3 separate regions of the Homo sapiens genome follow, and regions 2 and 3 are each linked to region 1. Evidence: promoter capture Hi-C in 16 types of primary human blood cells and fetal thymus (Javierre and others, 2016). All regions are on one chromosome and are shown on one strand. Each heading gives the region's core, a stretch centred on a gene start or on the middle of the fragment in contact. The rest is flanking DNA. Distances are from core to core; before and after follow the strand shown. Region 1 holds the start of GLG1 (golgi glycoprotein 1). Region 2 overlaps KARS1 (lysyl-tRNA synthetase 1). Region 3 overlaps TERF2IP (TERF2 interacting protein).

Region 1 (3,923 bases), core at 851-3,350:
GGTCTACGCTTGCCTGACAGCCTGAGCTGGCCAGGTTCCCAGATTTATCTGTTTCTTGCTTCTTGGTGACTGAGATTTCAAGATAGCCATGTGTACTCCTCCCTATCTCTGGAGGCAATCTGTGGCTGTGGTTTCCTCAGTTCAGGCTGAAAGATAAGTAACTGATGGCTTATCTAGGATTGTCAATTTCTAGTTAAACTGGCTTAAAATAATCTCCCACTTGTCTGAACACATGCAGACTCAGCATTGAAAATTAATGGAGGCCAGGCGCAGTACCTCACGCCTGTAATCCTAGCACTTTGGGAGGCTGAGGTGGGCAGATCGCCTGAGGTTTGGGGTTCGAGACCAGCCTGGCCAACATGGCAAAACCCCGTCGCTACTAAAAATACAAAAATTAGCTGGGTGTGGTGGCACATGCCTGTAATCCCAGCCACTCGGAGGCTGAGGCAGGAGAACTGCTTGAACCCAGGAGGTGGAGGTGGCAGCTCCGAGCAGAGATCACGCCACTGCACTCCAGCCTGGGCAACAGAGTGAGATTCCGTCTCAAAAAAAAAAAAAAAAAATTAACATACGCTAGTGACATCTCAAGGACTTCTGGTGATGTGTCCAGCCTGCCTGACTGAAACTTACCTATGCCATGTGTTTGCTAATAAACATGGGGCTGCCTTAGTCAGTGCTCAAGGTTAGCAGCAGCCTCATGATCATTTTATGACAGTAGCAAAGGTGACCGTTGGTGGAGATGCCAACAAGCTCTCATTCCCCATGATAGAGGCCTGGGGTCAGCCACAGTGGGTAATTTGTACTCACAGAATATCTTCAGTCTCAGGAGCTCCTTTTGGGTTCCCTGAGCTCCTGACTTTTCAGGTTCTAGTTATGTCTAACTTGGTCTTGACTGCTCATTTGCGGGTCAGGACAGCAGAAGCTGTCTGTTTACTACAGTAGATGTAATTCGCATTTTTGGACACAATGACCAGTGGAGATTACACAACCCAAACTGCCCTCATTCCCCAACATGTGCATGGACAGAGTGGGATGAAAGTGCGCCAGGGTGGTGGGAAGCCCCAGGGATTCTGGTGGCTAGCCTAGCTGTCTACAGGATGGCAGAGTTCCTCTTGGGCAGCTCATTTAATCCCTCCACGCAGAACTGTTAACATCTCTGTGCCATTCTTCAGTTAAATGAGAACCTAACGCAGGCCTGATGCATGGCTCAGATTACACAGCGGATGTGAAGAGGCTTTGGGAACATATCCTCTCTCCTAAGGACAGGGAGGGGATGCTAGTGTGGGGTGCCTGCGGTGTTGCATGCAGGTCAATGAGAACAGTTACCGACACACAGACTTAACCCGAGTCCTCAAAGATGTGTTTTATTATTATTTTTTCATCCTTTAAACATGAATCTAAATGCTGGCTTAAAATCAGGATTCATGCATAAACGGCTTCCCAGTTTATTAACAATACTGGCTGTGACTTTTTGAGTTCAGTGTTGTGGGCCAGGCACTTAAATTATTATTTCGAATCTTGCCAATGGTACTTTACATTTGAGCTCTTGCGTACCCTGCCAGAGCAAGGATTATAACCTTAATTTTTTTTCTTACCCCAGAACTTATGCTCTTAACCCTATTCAATGCTGTCTCTCTCTTTGGCTAAGAAAGACTTCTGAGGCAGATGGAAGGAAGGAAGGAAGGAGGGAGCGATACAAGGAGAGGCTTTCCGATTCCGTAATACACCTGGTTGTGCAAAGTTCACCTCTACATATAAAGTTTTTGTTTTCCAAGTCATTGAACCGGCGACATATTCTACCGGCCATTTTGGTTGTGGCAACCCCAATTCCCTTGATTTTTTTTTTTGTGACAGCAAATGGAATTAGAGTAGGCCGCCCTGCCCGGGCTTTTTAAGAAACCCCAGCAACCCCCCCGGGTAAGGAGCGCCGCTCTCCCGCCCGCCGGTCCAGGGTGTGTGCGGTTTCCAGCACGGCCTCCTCCTTCGCCCCACTCTGGGTTCGCGGGTCGGCGCCGGCGGGGCGGGGCTCGGCAGGGCCACGCTGCCACGCCCAGCGTCTCCACCCCCTCATTTAAATACGCGGCGCCGGCGAGTGCGTCGAGCTCGCCGCGGACTCAAGATGGCGGCGTGTGGACGTGTACGGAGGATGTTCCGCTTGTCGGCGGCGCTGCATCTGCTGCTGCTATTCGCGGCCGGGGCCGAGAAACTCCCCGGCCAGGGCGTCCACAGCCAGGGCCAGGGTCCCGGGGCCAACTTTGTGTCCTTCGTAGGGCAGGCCGGAGGCGGCGGCCCGGCGGGTCAGCAGCTGCCCCAGCTGCCTCAGTCATCGCAGCTTCAGCAGCAACAGCAGCAGCAGCAACAGCAACAGCAGCCTCAGCCGCCGCAGCCGCCTTTCCCGGCGGGTGGGCCTCCGGCCCGGCGGGGAGGAGCGGGGGCTGGTGGGGGCTGGAAGCTGGCGGAGGAAGAGTCCTGCAGGGAGGACGTGACCCGCGTGTGCCCTAAGCACACCTGGAGCAACAACCTGGCGGTGCTCGAGTGCCTGCAGGATGTGAGGGAGGTGAGGAGGTGGGACGAAGCCGGGAGGGCCAGGCCTGGTGCGGGCCCGAGGGTGTTGCCGGCCTTGGAAGCCGCTGACGCCGGTCGGCTGCTTTCCTTGCTTCCTCTGTGCTGCACTCGCTCCTTCCCTCTTTGCTCCTCACTCCCAGGCGCTTTCAGGGAAAAGGATACCACTCCCACTCCTTCTTTCCCCCGCCCTTATTTCCCTCCCTGTTGCCGGGGTCTGGGACGAAAACCTGGGCTCCTGGCCGCAATCCGCCGAGGCCCAGAGCGTGTCTGTTCGCTCCTGTCTTTTGTGTGATGCTCTATGCAGAGTGTCTCCTCGCCGAAGATCAGTTTAGGATTTTGCCATCAGTTTCGACTAGGACAATTTGTGGCAAGCCATTTAAACATAAAAAAATGCCTGGCGTACTTAGGCTGTAAAGAATGATCTGTTTATTAGCAGTAGATGTAATTCGCAAATCCATATTTTTGGTGCTGAAATTAATGTATGCTTTGTTTTCTTCACTTCCTTTGGTCAGTTGTATTGAACCCCATGTTTAAGCTGTTAACTCCCAGTGACTTGGCGCCCCAAAGCTTGAAAAGTTGGGGAAGCGTTTGAAGCTGTGTTTGTGACTGGGTTATGGGATCTTGCCTTTCTGAGGTCTGAATGTGATTTTAACAGTATCTCTTAATGAAATCTACATTTGTCGTTGCTTGGTGTGATTCAGTTGAGTGACATTGATAATTTATAATCAAGTGACATTGATAATTTATAATCTAGGTTTAATGCTGCAGACCATAATGACAATTCTCAAAGTTTGGGAGCAAATCTGACAGTAGTAACTTTTTCCAGAGGTGTAGGTATATAAAATTAGCCCTAAAGGTGGACAAATAGAATGAAGCTACCACTTGATACTGTTTTTGGTTTTTTTTTTAAATATCAGATTTGTTTAAGGCGTTCAAGCTATAGCAAGACCACTTGCTTGTAGAAATTTGCTTCTCTTGGCATTTCCCCCCTTCATCTCGTGTTCTAGTATTCTATACAAAAGCAATTCAGATAGAGGAAAAGACATACATAAGCAGGAGACAGAAAGAAAGGAAGTTTCCAGAGCCCCTAGAAATGTGAGGCCTTACCTGACTTCTCATCTTCAGCTTAACGACTAGAGGGATAGTCCTCTGGTAGATACAGCTAATATTCCTAACTCTGTCGAACTTTTTGGAATTTTCTTTTCGCTCTTTGAGGACACATAATAGATGTCGTTTCATCAAACTAGGATCCTAATACTGGTGACCAAACAATTAGTAGTAGTTTGTGGTAGAAACAGCACATTATTAGGGAAAGTGGCAAAAAGTGGCCTATTCAAGGAGTGTATATATCCTTCATG
Region 2 (4,024 bases), core at 1,271-3,770, 1.0 Mb before region 1:
GACTATTCCTTATAACTTTCCCCAATATTTCCCTTTAATATTTCTGCCACCATCCTGAGTGAATCCCAACATAGAGGAAGCTCACAGTCCCCAGGAGGATCAGAGAATCAGGCTTGGAAACTATACAACTAGGAATGATTCTGAGTCATATTAGAATGGGCTGTTCTCATGGAGAACCCAGTGTATTTTCCTAGTAGGCACAGTTACTACAGCTCATAATCCTGGCACTAGGCACAAGTCATTGCCGCTAGGACCTCTGCAATCTAAAAGCTACGTGTGACTGGCCCCCTTCACCAGAATGAATTCTATGCAATACCCACATCTTTTGTTAGTAGTTTCCATGCTGAAGTCTCACAAGTGTATCTGACTGGTGGAGCTTGGGTCACACGCCTGCAGCCTAACCCCAAGAGAGGCTGCTTCCTTGGGGAGGTTCAGACTCAATGATGGGGGATGCCCAAGACAGGAAGAGTATCGAGAAGTCCTAGGCAGCCAAAAAAGGGGTAACTATCCACACTACAAGGGTATAAAGAGAGCAGGGTGCTTGGCAATTTGACCAGAGACCTGAGAGTATACCTAACCTGTGAAAACCAAGTTACGGCTTTTGGAGACTGAAACTTCCCAGAGCTGTTAATACAAGATTAGCTGTCATGGGGCCGGGCGCGGTGGCTCATGCCTGTAATCCCAGCACTTTGGGAGGCGGAGGCAGGCAGATCACCTGAGGTCGGGAGTTCGAGACCAGCCTGACCAATACAGAGAAACCCTGTCTCTACTAAAAATACAAAAAAATTAGCCAGGCGTGGTGGCACATGCCTGTAATCCCAGCTACTAGGGAGGCTGGGGCAGGAGAATTGCTTGAACCTAGGAGGCGGAGGTTGCGGTGAGCTGAGATCTTGCCATTGCACTCCAGCCTAGGCAACAAGAGCAAAACTCCATCTCAAAAAAAAAAAGATTAGCTGTCATGACCGTGGCCATGTGTTGTTGTTAGATGCTTGTGGTTGGTGGCATCGACCGGGTTTATGAAATTGGACGCCAGTTCCGGAATGAGGGGATTGATTTGACGCACAATCCTGAGTTCACCACCTGTGAGTTCTACATGGCCTATGCAGACTATCACGATCTCATGGAAATCACGGAGAAGATGGTTTCAGGTGACTCCTGCTCTCTCTCATACTCATCGGGTGGTTGGTATGCTGCTTTCAGAGGAGGGCTGCCTGGATTTCATTCCCGCTAAATAACAGGTTTCTCTCCCAGGGATGGTGAAGCATATTACAGGCAGTTACAAGGTCACCTACCACCCAGATGGCCCAGAGGGCCAAGCCTACGATGTTGACTTCACCCCACCCTTCCGGCGAATCAACATGGTAGAAGAGCTTGAGAAAGCCCTGGGGATGAAGCTGCCAGAAACGAACCTCTTTGAAACTGAAGGTAAAGTGACAACACTCACTCCTCCGTTGTAAGGCCCTCCTTCCTGTTCAGCTCTGAATTTGATTGGGTCAGAGCTAGAATTTCCCACACTATTCTCTTTATGTACATTTTTACTTGGCTAGTGTGATGTCTCCTGCCCTAACTTTTGCATTTGTGTCCCAGAAACTCGCAAAATTCTTGATGATATCTGTGTGGCAAAAGCTGTTGAATGCCCTCCACCTCGGACCACAGCCAGGCTCCTTGACAAGGTGAGAAGGCCCTGCCTTCTTGTACATGTCCTCATCTGGTGCTGAATGGTTCCCTCTTCCCTGGGAAAATGAACCCCACTGGGGAGAGTTCATTTCTGCAGCTTCACAGGAAAACCCTAGAGAGAGAACAAGAGAATTAACAGACTTTTAACTGTCATACTAAGCTCTGTGCCAAATAATTTATGTGTGTGATCTCAGTTAATCCCGTCCAGCTTTTAAAAAGCTATAGGGTAGGGTGGGCATGGTGGCTCACACCTGTAATCCCAGCACTTCAGGAGGCCGAGGCAGATGAATCACCTGAGGTCAGGAGTTCGAAACCAGCCTGGCCAACATGGTGAAACCCTGTCTCTACAAAAAATCCAAAAATGAGCTGGGTATGGTGGCGGGCACCTGTAATCCCCGCTATTCAGGAGGCTGAGGCACGAGAATCACTGGAACCAGGATGCGGAGGTTGCAGCAAGCCGAGATCATGCCACTGCACTCCAGCCTGGGCGACAGAGCGAGACTCCATCTCAATAATAATAATAATAATAATAATAAATAAATAAAAAGCTATAGGATAAACCCATCTGGATGGGAGCTGAGATCTTCTGTCTGGGCTGGGACGATCAAATACTATTCAGAAATGGTGACTGACTCTGCTTTGCTTTCTCATTAAGCTTGTTGGGGAGTTCCTGGAAGTGACTTGCATCAATCCTACATTCATCTGTGATCACCCACAGATAATGAGCCCTTTGGCTAAATGGTAAGATTCCAGTTACCTATTGCTGCATAACAGCCCCAAAACTTAGTGGTGTTAACAATTTATTGTCAAGATTTTGTGGTTTGACTGGTGGTCTTTCTGCTGGGTGGTGTTGACCAGGGTAACCCAAGTGGCTTTTTTTCAACTGGGGATTCTGCCAGGGCACTTTGGTTCTCCTCCACGTGGTCACTCCACATACGATCTTATCCTCCAGGGCCTCTTCATGTGGCCTGTCTGGCAGCACAGCCTGGGCTTCCCTTCAGCATGGTGGTTGGGCTCTAAGGGGAAGCTTCCAAAAGAACAGACCTCATTGTGCAAACACGTATCAAGCCTCTGGTGATAACCCATTGGCCAAACCAAGACATGTTGCCAGCGCAGAGTCCAGGTGAAGGAGACTACACATGGGCATGAATGCAAGAGGTGTGGTCCATTTTAACAGTCTGCCCGCTGGCCTGTTAGGAAGATCATTAAACCTTCCTGGTCTCTCTCACCCTCCTCACCGTTGTACCAAATGATTTGTTGCTGAGACTGCATGCAGGCTTCTGACTGCAATCAGTAACACTTTTGAGTCCACTAGAATTCAATTATTGTATTAGATGTTTGATCGTTAGACCAACCTGGCCAATATGGCGAAACCCTGTCTCTACTAAAAATACAAAAATTAGCCAGGCATAGTGGCATGGGCCTGTGATCCCGGCTACTCAAGGCTGAGGCAGGAGAAGTGCTTGAACCCAGGAGACAGAGGTTGCAGTGAGCCGAGATCACACCACTGCACTCCAGCCTGCGTGACAGAGCGAGACTCCGTCTCAAAAAAAAAGAAAAAACAAAATTTAGCTCATTAGGGGCCTCTATATTCAGCCTCCTCTTTGGTCTCCTGTCCCTAGGCACCGCTCTAAAGAGGGTCTGACTGAGCGCTTTGAGCTGTTTGTCATGAAGAAAGAGATATGCAATGCGTATACTGAGCTGAATGATCCCATGCGGCAGCGGCAGCTTTTTGAAGAACAGGCCAAGGTGAGAAAGGGGACTGTGAGCAGAAGCTGTGCCAACTCACCAGGAAATACCAGCCTTAACCCTGATCTGTGTCAGCGTATACGTTCTTGGTGACTTCAGAAGTGAAAGATAAAGCCATAGGCTTGCTGGAGGAGTCACATTTCAAGATGGTGACTTCATCTGGTATTGAGTCTGTCGTACATAAGAGGAACTTCATTATTAATCTCCGTATGGAAAGCGTGACGCTTGCCTTGAAAATACACTTGCCAAGCAAGAACATTATTTTCTTAGATTGTACATGTATTAAGGTGGCTTAGGGCTGGGAGGTAGGTAGAGATGAATGGAGAAGACAGAACCCCCACAGGCTGCCTGCAGCAGGTGTTGACAGGGCTGTTTTCAGGAAATGGGAGAAAGACTCTTGTAATTGTCACAGTCTCTGAGAATTAACCTGTTTGGAGTCCCAGAGCCCCAAGCAGCAGAAGGGTTTTCTTTCAGAGAAATTTGTATGTGTTCTGAGGTCGATTTCATCAGTCCTGACCTCCAGGTCTTTGAAAGAAACGGCTGCATCTTGGAGTTACTAGGAAATGAATTCCCAGCAAGTCCTGAGTGTCAGGAGCAT
Region 3 (4,070 bases), core at 826-3,325, 1.0 Mb before region 1:
GTGCATCCCTTCAATTCCTGTGCATCCCTTCACTCACCAATTACAGAAGCTTTAAATTATTTCCCTTGTTTGGACTGAAGCCTAACCATTTTTCTTTGTTAATATGAATTTTCTTTGTTAGTTCACAAGACGCTTTATCATGGAAAAATATATACATATAATTTGGACCTTTAAAAAACTTATCATTATTGTATGGCTCCTGTCTTTCTCTGTAGCTATTATTAAATATCAGATTCTAACAGAGTAATATAAGCTAGACTGAATATGGAAGAGCTAAAACATTTTTAAAAAGCTCAAAGTACACAAAAAGCTAAATTTGCTTGATAAAAAAAATTACTATAAGTAGCTGGGCATGATGGCACATGCCTGTAATCCCAGTTACCCAGGAGGCTGAGGCAGAAGAATTGCTGGAACCTGGGAGGTGGAGGCTACAGTGAGCTGAGATGGCACCACTGCACTCCAGCCTGGGTGACAGAGTGAGACTCCACCTCAAAAAAATACAAAAAGCGGTGGCTCACGCCTGTAATCCCAGCACTTTGGGAGGCCAAGGCGGGCGGATCACGAGGTCAGGAGATCGAGGCCATCCTGGCTAACACAGTGAAACCCCGTCTCTACTAAAAATACAAATAATTAGCCAGGCATGGTGGTGGGCGCCTGTAGTCCCAGCTACTCGGGAGGCTGAGGCAGGAGAATGGTGTGAACCCAGGAGGCGGAGCTTGCAGTGAGCCAAGATCGCACCACTGCACTCCAGCCTGGGCGACAGAGCCAGACTCTGGCTCAAAAAAATAGAAAAAACAATTACTATAAACTTTTTGAAAAATATATTGACATTAAAGTACTCAAAGTGGGATGCTTTATACTGTTTATACAACTGTCCCTATTCTACCCAATTTTTCTCCCTTTCCCCCTCAACTTGTCCTGCCAAAAACTAAAAGCTTTGTGAAGCAAAAGCTTCAGGGCAACATGTCTGAAGCCCAGATCAGTCCCATTTTCCATTTTCCCTTTCCATCTTGAACTCCTCTCTCACTTTCCTGAGCCCCAGGTAGATGAAAAAGGTGTACAGGATAACCAGTTTCAAAGAAGAATGAAGGTAGGGAAAAAAATAATGAGTAAATCTAGTTAACATACCACAACCTCCTCAAACTCCCGGGTGGCTTCCACAAGCATCTTTTTGACTGCTTCTTCATTCTCCTGGATTTCTTCCTTCACATACTCTTCTTCAGGCAAATCTGGAGTTCTCTTATTCTGTGGTTCTGTTAAAGAGAAGAACAGCACAGATTAGCAATAGCCTCTTTTACATAAACCAAAAATATATTTGCTGTGTGAGCTCTGGGCCAGGAGTGAGCCTGCACTTTTTTTTTTTTTTTTTTTTTTTTTACTATCAGAAGACATCTGTTCTTGATTCAGAAGGGTAAAAAAAGCCTAGGACGTGCTCATTCACCCATTTCTATGCTTGCTTCTGAAAAGATGTACTATCCAAACAATGATACATTCTTAAACTCTGACATATAAAAATGCTCAAGTTTAATTCATTTTTTGCTTTGTAGTTACAGACTTTGCAAATTAATAAAAATGTGTCATAAATTGGGTTCCTTGGGAAGCAAATTCTGAGATGGAGATGGAAATTTAAAGAATTGGGAAGTGATTTTGGGAAAACCTTTGTGGAAGAGCAGGAGTGGGCAGAGAGAGAAGCTGACTTATCAAAGAGTTTCAACAAGACCTCAGCCAAAACCATGGGCAACTCTGGAGCTAGGAAGGCCCTTCAGAACTGACCAAGCTGGGGCCAAGGAGCAGACTTTGTAACTCTGCAAATATCAGTCACTGGATGGTGGCAGCCCTAAGAAGACAGGAGTTTGGGCAAGGCAGCTCTCCTAGCAGCCAAAGGCAGATCTGGGCCACGTACCACAATCCACCAATATACCATCTACAAAAAGGAGGGCCTCCTAAATTTAAACATCCTGTTCCTTTCCTTTACATTTTGTTCTCTGAAGATTTAACTCTGCTCCTTTTCTACTTACTAAAACATACTACAAAGGGGCAGCAAGAGGGAGTTTTTCGTGATGGAATTGTTCTAAATCCCAATGTGGGTGCTGGTTACAAAAATTTACCTATGTTAAAACACATATAACTGGAAAAGAGTACAGCAGTTCCTCAAAAAATTCAATATAATTTCATGATGACAACCCACAAGGAAAAAGAAAAAATTAAACATAAAATTACCATATGATCCAGCAATTGCATTTCTAGGCATATACCTAAAATAATGGAAAGCAGGGTCTCAAACAGATACTAGTTATACCCATGTTCACAGCAGCATTATTCAAAATAAACAAAAGATGGAAATAAGCCAAATGTCAATTGATACATTAATGGAAAAACAAAATGTAGTATATACATACAATGGAATATTATTCACCTTTAAAAAGGAATCAAATTCTGACACATGCTACAATATGGATGAACTTTGAAGATATTATGTAAAGTGAAATAAGCCAGACACAAAAGGGCAAATATTACATGATTCTACTTGTATGAGGTATCTAGAAATATTGAATTCATAGAAACAGAAGGCGGAATGGTTGTTTCCAGGGGCTAAGAGGAGGGAGAAATGGGGAATTAGTGTTTAATAGGCATGTTTCTGACCCCTAGAAGCAGAAAATAATAAAAGGCATGGAGTTTCAGTTTTAGAAAATGAGTAAGTTCTAGATACAGATGGTGGTGACAGTTGCCCAACAATGTGAATGCACTTAATAATGCCACTGAACAGAACACTTAAAAAACTATCTGAACTGTAAATTTTACGGTATATACATTTTACCACAATAAAAAATAAAGTTTTTAAAATGCATATAATTTTACACCATAAAAAGTTAATTTTACTGTATGTATTTAATAAAATTCTTAAATAGTAACTAAAAGAGGCTTATCTTTGAGAGATACATGCTAAAATAGATAAAATGATATGATGTCTGGCATTTGCTTCAAAACAGTCCAGGAAGTTGGGATGAAAAGTATAGATTTAAAAAATGCCATGAACTAAAATCAGGTGAAGGTGGGTGATGGGTATATGCAGTATAGTTCATTATACTATTCTGTATTTGTAAATGCTTGGAATTCTCCATAATAAAAAGTAAATTACTGTTCATTCACATAATGAAATACAGTGCAATCAATTAGAAAAGAATGAGGAAAAGCTTTGTGCAGACACACAAACACTTCAAGATAAATAATTAAGTTTAAAAAAAGTAAACCACAGATTAAGTTGATGTCTAGTGTGCTAGTATTACTATGAGCAAAGGGGACATGCAACAGACAAGAGACGGTAATAGAGGCTGCCCCTAGGAAAGGACCCAGGGAAAAGGGTATGTAAATAGGGAGACTGCCTTTTCAGTATGTACCCATTTGTACTCTGAGTATATCTACGGGATAAATTCCTAGAACAAAACTGCCATGTTTAAGGGAATATACGTTATAAATGTCATCAGATATTGTCAAAATGCCCCCCAAAGAAATTGTATCAATTTCTATTAACAACGTAGGAGTATACTTGTTTTCCCATACACTAACTTTGGATATTACCCATTGTATTGACTTTTGCCAATCTTATAGATAAAGTATAACATCTCCTTGCTCTGATTTAGTTAAAAAAAATAAATAACTTGGGGAGCTTTTGTTCTATTTTGTATAATGGAAGCTATCTCAATTCATCAAATAAATACAAAACAATTCCAACACACATATTTATTATCTCACAGGTCTCATGGGTCAAAGTATAGCTTATACTGACCCTAGGCTCAGGGTCTGATTTACTTTCTTTCTTCTTCTTTTTTTCTTTCCGAGATGGAGTCTGGTTCTGTCACCCAGGCTGGAGTGCAGGGGCTTGATCTCAGCTCATTGCAACCTACACCTCCCTGGTTCAAGCAATTTTCATGCCTCAGCTGCCTGAGTAGCTGCGATTACAGGCGCATGCCACCATGCCTGGATAGTTTTTGTAGTTTTTAGTAGAGACGGAGTTTCATCATGTTGGCCAGGCTGGTCTCGAACTCCTGACCTCAAGTGGTCTGCCACCT

The links. Contacts are between HindIII fragments. The CHiCAGO score rates a contact against its expected background, and 5 or more counts as called.
Region 2: a contact is called between a fragment that was not itself captured here and the fragment with the promoter of GLG1 in region 1, in 2 of 17 cell types (total CD8 T cells and activated CD4 T cells). The highest score is 7.4, in total CD8 T cells.
Region 3: a fragment that was not itself captured here is called in contact with the fragment with the promoter of GLG1 in region 1 in 1 of 17 cell types (monocytes); the score reaches 5.6 in monocytes.

What each region holds. Positions count from the first base shown.
Region 1 is chr16:74,605,291-74,609,213 of GRCh38, reverse strand. GLG1 (golgi glycoprotein 1) reads left to right here and starts at 2,100. Exons shown (of 26, transcript NM_001145667.2): 1 at 2,100-2,557. The coding sequence starts at 2,120. RefSeq lists silencers at 1,930-2,119, 2,350-2,529. The HindIII fragment of the contact is 13,128 bases long and covers 1-3,134 here.
Region 2 is chr16:75,628,817-75,632,840 of GRCh38, reverse strand. KARS1 (lysyl-tRNA synthetase 1) reads left to right here. Exons shown (of 14, transcript NM_005548.3): 8 at 986-1,148; 9 at 1,252-1,425; 10 at 1,588-1,673; 11 at 2,333-2,418; 12 at 3,300-3,426. Among named protein-coding and RNA genes, the nearest start is that of ADAT1, 7.5 kb to the right of the region's middle. RefSeq lists an enhancer at 2,172-3,371. The HindIII fragment of the contact is 372 bases long and covers 2,335-2,706 here.
Region 3 is chr16:75,651,456-75,655,525 of GRCh38, reverse strand. It overlaps TERF2IP (TERF2 interacting protein), which reads right to left. Exons shown (of 3, transcript NM_018975.4): 2 at 1,129-1,253. Among named protein-coding and RNA genes, the nearest start is that of TERF2IP, 5.7 kb to the right of the region's middle. The HindIII fragment of the contact is 2,243 bases long and covers 954-3,196 here.